Regions from separate parts of the Homo sapiens genome. Here all the other regions are linked to region 3. Evidence: promoter capture Hi-C in 16 types of primary human blood cells and fetal thymus (Javierre and others, 2016). All regions are on one chromosome and are shown on one strand. Each heading gives the region's core, a stretch centred on a gene start or on the middle of the fragment in contact. The rest is flanking DNA. Distances are from core to core; before and after follow the strand shown. Region 1 has its middle 5.4 kb from the start of NKX1-2. Region 2 has its middle 19 kb from the start of ZRANB1. Region 3 holds the start of C10orf88 (chromosome 10 open reading frame 88).

What was found. The method cuts DNA at HindIII sites, captures the fragments that hold promoters and counts their contacts. A CHiCAGO score of 5 or more calls a contact.
Region 1: a fragment that was not itself captured here is called in contact with the fragment with the promoter of C10orf88 in region 3 in 2 of 17 cell types (fetal thymus and activated CD4 T cells); the score reaches 6.1 in fetal thymus.
Region 2: a fragment that was not itself captured here is called in contact with the fragment with the promoter of C10orf88 in region 3 in 2 of 17 cell types (non-activated CD4 T cells and total B cells); the score reaches 6.2 in non-activated CD4 T cells.

Annotation. Positions count from the first base shown.
Region 1 is chr10:124,454,069-124,456,768 of GRCh38, reverse strand. No RefSeq gene overlaps it. Among named protein-coding and RNA genes, the nearest start is that of NKX1-2, 5.4 kb to the right of the region's middle. The HindIII fragment of the contact is 2,105 bases long and covers 328-2,432 here.
Region 2 is chr10:124,922,009-124,924,708 of GRCh38, reverse strand. It overlaps a transcript of ZRANB1 not described here. Among named protein-coding and RNA genes, the nearest start is that of ZRANB1, 19 kb to the left of the region's middle. The HindIII fragment of the contact is 5,966 bases long and covers 1-2,700 here.
Region 3 is chr10:122,952,933-122,955,632 of GRCh38, reverse strand. It overlaps C10orf88 (chromosome 10 open reading frame 88), which reads left to right and starts at 1,406. Exons shown (of 6, transcript NM_024942.4): 1 at 1,406-1,618; 2 at 2,601-2,700. The coding sequence starts at 1,455. LOC124902519 (a long non-coding RNA gene) reads right to left here and starts at 1,191. Exons shown (of 2, transcript XR_007062325.1): 1 at 1,065-1,191. RefSeq lists a silencer at 1,611-1,690. The HindIII fragment of the contact is 5,860 bases long and covers 1-2,700 here.

The DNA of each region.
Region 1 (2,700 bases), core at 131-2,630, 1.5 Mb before region 3:
CACCACACGGGGTTAAATTCATGGTGGTTCTACGCCTGCATTTTTATTTTCTGTTCCCTTCCCTTCCTCCCTTCCTTCCTTCCTTCCTTTCTTCCTTCCTTCCTTCCTTCCTTTCTGAGACAGGGTCTTGTACTATGACCCAGACTGGAGTGCAGTGGCATGACTCATAGCTCACTGCAGCCTCAAACTCCTGGGCTCAAGTATCCTCTCGCCTCAGCCTCCCAAAGTGCAGAGATTATAGGTGTGAACCACTGTGCCTGGCCCCTGCATTTTTCTTTATGAAAAGCATGGTACCCAGCATGGATGACCTGAATAAAAACATAAGCTTGTTCCACAGATGCTCAGCATGGGAGTCAGACCCTTTATGAACCTCTATCCGTACCTAAATATTTCTTGATCCGATTTTTGTCTTCAGCCTATATGGTCTCTCATGGGTTTCCAATCCATCTTAGTCAAACTGTGGAGCTTTGGGTTTGTGTTACTGGGCCACCATTTATTGCTTTCGACTCTTCAACCTACCAAACACCAAGGTACTGGTGGGCACAGGGATGCACGCTCTGCCCTCCCTGACTTTAAGACAATCCAAGGACCAGAATCTGTATGCCAGGCAGTGTGATAAAGGCTGTGCCTGTCAGGGTTCCTTGACTCTGGCTAATTGAATTCCAAAATGCAGAGGGGAAGAGAAGGTTGGGAAGAGTGTAGGCAATTTACAAAATCAAAGGAAATGCTGAACAACCAGACCTGGGCAAGTACTGGAACCATCAGCGTCAAGAGTGGGAAATAACAGATTATTTAGTTTTGGGCACCACTGCCACAATGAAGCGGTGTCACTCTGCTTCAGATACTCCCGGGAGAGAGGCCAGTAGGACTCTACTGCAGGGGCTCACTCTTACCTCCCGGCCAGAAGAAGGTTGGGGGGCCTGATTGGCAGTCCCATCACTACCACATACAAGGGTGGGGGCCCAGGGGGATCTCATCAAAATCAGCTACAGACACCAGAAAAGGGGGAGTGGATCCTCAGATCAGGCAAAACCAAGAGATGTCCATCAAGGGCTATGATGGCAGCGTGCCCCAGAAACAATGTGGGAAGGAGTGCTCCAGTCCGCGTGGGGTAAGTCAGGGAAGCCCTCAAGAAGAAATAGTATTGTAGGGATGCAGTGAGGCTCCCAGGGAACCCGGAATGGAACAACCAGCATCAGGAAGAAGTCAGCAACAGTGGCAGCAGCTGGAACCCACCTGTCTGCCTGTCTCTCGTGGCTTCTCCGCTCTGCTCTGCACTTGTTTTTGTTGTTTGTTTGTTTGTTTTTGAGACGGAGTTTCATTCTTGTTGCCCAGGCTGGAGTGCAATGGTGTGATCTCGGCTCACTGCAACCTCCGCCTCCCAGGTTCAAGTGATTCTCCTGCCTCAGCCTTCCCAGTAGCTGGGATTACAGGCGCCTGCCACCACACCTGGGTAATTTTTGTATTTTCAGTAGAGACAGGGTTTCGCCATGTTGACCAGGGTGGTCTTGAACTGCTGACTTCAGGTGTTCTGCCCGCCTCGGCCTCCCAAAGTGCTGGGATTACAGATGTAAGCCACCACGTCCAGCCTGCACACTTGTTTTTGACTCTCCATGTCCCTGCTGAGTCTCTGCATCTCCATAACTTCTGTGAGCATGTGGTCCTCAGCGGCCACCCGTCTCCATTTTCCTTGCCCATTAAGCTCAAGCACCCACCAGTGGCAGGGAGCATGCCCTAAGATGAGGGAGTTGATTTTTTTTAACTTTGGTTTGGGGTCAGGTGGGAAGGCTATATTTTCAACTCAGCTTTCACAAGTTAGTCTATGAGGTGTTTTTTTTTTTTTTTTTTTTTTGCCGGGGGGAATACTTGCTGTGCTTGGCAGCCAGAGTTCAAAGCTCTGGTGGGAAATGGTAAATGCTAGCCTTTAATTGTAAATGACCTCTCCAGCACCAAGGGAGATAGAGTCCAGTAAACAAACAATGGATTCTGCTATCTGTGGCTTCCTTCTAAAACCTAGTGCTTACCCTCTCCCATATTACAGACCAATTTGAGTAGAAGAAGCACATCTTGGGGAAGGTGGCTGAGGTACTGGGAAAAGGGGTTACCCACAGGCTGTCTGGCAGTTGAGGTGTCCCTCTTTGTCATCAAGCTGTGTCTTATGAAGCTGTCTCTTTGGCACATATATCCTACCCTGGGGGCTGGCTCAAAACGCAGGGTTTTACCTGGAGAATTTCAGTTGCATTTTACTTTAGGAACATAAGATTTTATCTAAAATGCTTTAACACGGCTCATAATATTGCCCCCTCCCCCCCACTCCCTCTGCATAAACTGCAAATTCTTTCCATTGTTAACACTATTCATGGCACTCAGCGGCTCTTCAAGGCTGTGCTGGAATTATAGGCACCTTTGTTTGTGGAATACCTTAGGAAGCTTGGCACCATTGATTTGCATCAGTGCCTCCGGAATAGCCTTTGCCTTCTCCTTAAAGATACTATCTAAACTGTGAAATTCATTAAATAGCCCCAGAAATGGATCAGGTTATTTAACACAACATCCCTAATGGTGCAATATCTCAGCTGTCTGCACGGATAGTGAACATTGTCTTGGATAGTGTTATCAGCCCAGGACACCCGCTATGAATATTGATCCCGAGCTTGTTACAGGCATCACTTGCTATCAGGACAGGTCAGGGTTGGAACC
Region 2 (2,700 bases), core at 21-2,520, 2.0 Mb before region 3:
ATGAATGGATAAACAAAATGCTGTTTATACAATGGAGTATCAGCCAGCCACAAAAAGGAATGAAGTACTGACACATGCCACAACATAAACCTTGGAAGTATTATAAGAGAAAAAAGCCACATAAACGGTCATATATTGTACAATTCCATTTACGACATATCCAGAATAGGCAAATCTAGAGAGACAAAGTAGATTAGTGGTTGCCAGGAGCTGAGGCAAGGCGGAAATGACTCCTTAATGAGTACAGAGTTTCTTTTTGGGGTCATGAAAATGTTCCAGGATTATATAGTGGTTGGTAATGGCTGTACAACTCTGTTAAGTATACTAAAAACTACTGAATTGTATACTTTAAAGGGGTGAATTTTATGGTATATGAAATACACCTCAATGAAGCTGCTTTTTTTTTTTTTTAGAAAAAACTGGAAAGATTTGCAACTGATTCCAATTAATATCACGCATTCAAATATTTTTTATTTATATGAATTAAAACCACCCACATTATGGCCAGGTGCGGAGGCTCATCAAGCCTGCAGTCCCAGCACTTTGGGAGGCCAAGGCGGGCAGATCACTTGAACTCAGGAGTTTGACACCAGCCTGAGTAACGTACCAAGACCCCATCTCAAAAAAAAAAGAAAGAGACCACCCACATTAAAAATTGACTTGACAAAGGATGAAAAACCAAAACTGCGGTGTGTGAGTTCAGGAGTGAGAGGGACAGTTTGCCCTCAATATATGAACAATAAAAATAACAAAAATTCTTTTTTTTTGGTAAGAGATAGGGTCTTGCTACTTTGCCCAGTTATATGGTTTGGCTCTGTGTCCCCACCCAAATCTCATTGCCAACTGTAATCCCCATGTGTCAAGGGAGGGACCCGGTGGGAAGTGACCGGATCATGGGGGCGGTTTCCCCTATGCTGTTCTTGAGATACTGAGTGAGTTCTCAGGAGATCTGATAGTTTAAAAGCGTGGCACTTCCCCTGCTCACTCTCTCTCTCCTGCCTTGTGAAGGTGCTTTTTTTCTCTTCACCTTCTACCATAAGTTTCATGAAGCCTCCCCAGTCATGAGAAACTGTTAGTCAGTTAAACCCCTTTTCTTTATAAATTACCAATCTCAGGTAGTTCTTTTTCTTTTCTTCCGAGGCAGGCTGAAGCGCAGTGGCACAATCTCGGCTCACTGCAACCTCCACCTCCTGGGTTCAAGATTCTCCTGCCTTGGCCTCCCAAAGTGCTGGGATTACAGGTGCGCACCACCACGCCCAGCTAATTTTTTTGAATTTTTAGTAGAGACACGGTTTCACCATGTTGGTCAGGTTGGTCTCGAACTCCTGATCTCGTGATCCACCTGCCTTGGCCTCCCAAAGTGCTGGGATTACAGGTATGAGCCACAGCACCTGGCATCAGCTAGTTTGTTTTTTTTGTTTGTTTGTTTTTGAGACAGAGTCTTGCTCTGTCGCCCAGGCTGGAGTGTAGCTCGGCTCTCTGCAACCTCTGCCTCCTGGGTTCAAGCAATTCTCCTGCCTCAGCCTCCCGAGTAACTGAGACTACAGGTGTGCACCACCATGCCCAGCCAATTTTTGTGTTTTTAGTAGAGACGAGGTTTCACCATGTTGGCCAGGATGGTCTTGAACTCCTGACCTTGTGATCTACCCGCCTAGGCCTCCTAATGTGCTGGGATCACAGGAGTGAGCCACTGCGCCCGGCTGATAGTTCTTTATAGCAATGTGAAAACAAACTAATACACCCAGACTGGACTCGAATTCCTGGGATCAAGCGATCCTCCCACCTGAGCCTCCCATGTAGCTGGGACTACAGCCACATGACACCACGCCTGGGTAGTAGTTTATTTTTTTCATTACTAAAAAATTTAGGGCCAGGCGCAGTGGCTTACCACGGCTGAATACAAAAATTAGCCAGGCAAGGCTGGGCACAGTGGCTCACGCCTGTAATCCCAGCACTTTGGGAGGCAGAGGCGGGCAGATCACGAGGTCAGTTCGAGACCAGCCGGGCCAACACGGTGACACCCCATCTCTACTAAAAGATACAAAAAAATGAGCTGGGCATGGTGGCACGTGCCTGTAATCCCAGCTACTCAGAAGGCTGAGGCAGGAGAATCACTTCAAGCCGGGTGGTGGAGGTTGCAGTGAGCTGAGATCGTGCCATTGTACTCCAGCCTGGGTAACAGGGAGAGACTCCATCTTAAAAAAAAAAAAAAAAAATTAGCCAGGTGTGGTGGCACGCATCTGTAGTCTCAGCTACTGGGGAGGCTGAAGTGAGAGGATAGCTTGAGCCTGGGAAGTCAAGGCTGCAGTGAGTTGTGATCATGCCATACACTCCAGCCTGGGCAACACAGTGAGACCCTATTAAAAAAAAAATATATATATACATATATTTTACATATATATATATATTTTACATATATATATATATTTTACATATATATATATATATTTTACATATATATATAATTTGGGCTCAGGGGTTCATGCCAATAATCCCAGCACTTTGGGAGGCCAAGGCAAGAGGATTGGTTGAGCCCAGGAATTCAAGACCAGCCTGGGGGCAATATAGAGAGATCTTGTCTCTACAAAAAATTTTTTTAAAAAGCCAGGCACAATGGTACACACCTATAGTTCCAGCTACTTGGGAGGCTAAAGTGGGAGGACAGTTTGTTGAGTCATGATCAGCACTGCACTCTGGCCT
Region 3 (2,700 bases), core at 157-2,656:
AATATTAAAAAAATCTTTGCAAACGAGGACTTTACAATTCTGCTATGATAGACCTTTGGTGACATTTCTCTCTTTCAATCTTGGTGAATTCACCTACCATACGTACATTCTGGTGATTACTTATAGAAAAATACATTTGGTCATCATTTTTCTTGCTTTGACACAGGTAAACAGAATGCAAAGTTTATTCTCATTTTTAGCTAGAGGGCACAAGTCCTAGTACATAAACTCAAACGAAAACATAAGCAAAAAGATTAAAGTAATGCGCACTGAGTCATGAACCCAGAATAGACAGCTCTGAAAGAAAATTAGAGTATGGGTGAGCAAAAACGTTATTTCCTAGAGAGGATACCACCTTAAACACAACTTTGGAACTCTAGATTATAGACAAGTGGAATTTCAGAGTTTGCTTTTTTCAAAAGACAGAAAAATAATCTGCACAAGCCTCTACAGGAGGAGGATGAGGGGGCACACTATATACAGTCCCATCCCGTGGGGCATCTAGAAAGTTCCATCTGCTCCCACTGTTCTGCATCCGTAGCCTTAAGTTCCTTCAAGACTGAGTTCATATTCTACTTCAACAGAGTTCTGAGACCCCCCCTTTCCACTCGCTGTTTCCAGTGCCATGAGGAGCGATCTCATGGGGCAGCCCCTGCCTTCGGTGTCTGGGTCTTTCTTGCATTTCAAATTTCTGTCACCTAGAGCGTCCAGCCCTGGATGCCCGGGTTCCTGCGGCCTGAGGGTTGCACATGGGGTCAGGGGGCGTCAGCTGAGACAGCACCCGGCGAAGGCCAGCGTGGCTCAATGCCCATCACAGATGCCCTTCAACCCCAAAACCCCATCATCCGCTTCAGCCCCCCTCTAAAGCGAGAATATGTGTGAGGGAGGCTAGGAGAATTCGAAGTAAAAATAACCCGAATCGGCAGCGCGTCCGCCGCGCTAGCTGCCACAAATGCTGCAGATCCGACGGAATGGAAGCAGAAAAGGCCCTGGCGTCCCCTTGGGAAAGAACGAGGTCAGGAGTCGGTCTTGCACGCAGCGTAGAGCGACGAGACTACACCTACCTGATCACAGACGTTCCACACCAGCTCAGCAACGGTCGTCCACGCCGCTTGCTGTTTCCCCACAGCCAACGTCGAAAACACCCTCGTGCCGGCGCGCAGTGCACCGCGCCTGCGCATAGTCTCCAGCGAAAGAGCAAGGGTCTGCCAGTGCGCATGCTCCGCTCTCGACCTCCTCCCCGCACACTTTGAACGCCGCGCCTGAGGCCAGCTGGCACATGCGCATGCGTGTCTCTGGTGCCTGCTCTCCCCACCAAAGCAAGAAGCGGCGGGTACTTGAAGCGGAGTGAGCCGGAAGTCGCTTTGCCTGCCCATTTCCACGCTGTACCGGCGGAAATTCAAGCACTGGAAGAGAGGTTCCGGGGCTGGGCTGGCCTGACTGAAGGCGGCGGAATGGAGACGCGGACCGAGGACGGGGGCCTCACCCGCCGCCCCACGCTGGCCTCTTCTTGGGATGTTGCAGGCGGGGCCCTGACCCACAGCCTCCTCCTCACCCGGGCCGGTCTCGGCCCCGGTGACTTCGACTGGGAGGAGCTGCTGGCACCGCCTGCTCCAGGGTGCGCCGGGCCGACGGGGACGGGGTCGCTATGCTCGGCAACTGCCGCGCTTCTAGGGGAGCTGTGAGGGGAGGCGAGAGGGTCTGAGCCCGGGATCCGGGAGAGCAGTTGGTACCAGGTCTCTAGTTGGGGAGGGGAGCTGCGAGGTCGTCCGGGGTGGGCGGAGGGGGGTGGGTCCGGCCGGGAAGGGGCCGAGGCTCCTGGGCGTGAGAGGGGGAAGGTGACCCGGACTCGGAATTTCATATAACGTCCCCATCAGGCGTGATAGCCCCTCAGGGCTGCTGTCAAAGTCAGTCCGCCCCTCTACCCTCAAACAAGACACCTCCTGTCCACCAAAACAGGCTGTGTAAAAAGTCCAGCTATAGATGATCGCTGTCGACTTAATTTCGAAAAAGATACACTTTTGTCTTTCATTGTGCCCTGCACCCAGTAGGTGCCCAGTGATTTATGTAATTATCCGAGAGTCAATTGCAGGGGATTGAGTAGAATGTTGATTGAGGAAAAAATAGAGTTTGGGAAAGCCCTGATGTGTGACACCTTCATTTCCGTATGAATTCTGTGTTGAGCGCTTCTTGGATGCTTGGGAAGGTGCTTGGACCTCAAGGGCAAGTGGAAGTGAGTTAGAAGAAAGAAGCCCCGGCCGGGCACGGTGGCTCACACCTGTAATCCCAGCACTTTGGGAGGCCGAGGCGGGCGGATCACGACGTCAGGAGATCAAGACCATCCTGGCTAACACGGCGAAACCCCGTCTCTACGAAAAATACAAAAAATTAGCCGGGCGCGGTGGCGGGTGCCTGTAGTCCCAGCTGCTTGGGAGGCTGAGGCAGGAGAATGGCGTGAACCCGGAAGGCGGAGCGTGCAGTGAGCCGAGATGGAGCCACTGCATTCCAGCCTGGGCGACAGAGCCAGACTCCGTCTCAAAAAAGAAGAGTCATGTTCAGAGAACTATACTGTGTGATGTTTTCACCAATTTTCTTCTCAGTCAGGATCTGGTGATTTTGAAGAGAAACCACAACAACAAAGATGAAAACCCCTGCTTCCTTTACCTGAGGTGTGGCCCTGATGGAGGTGAAGAAATCGCT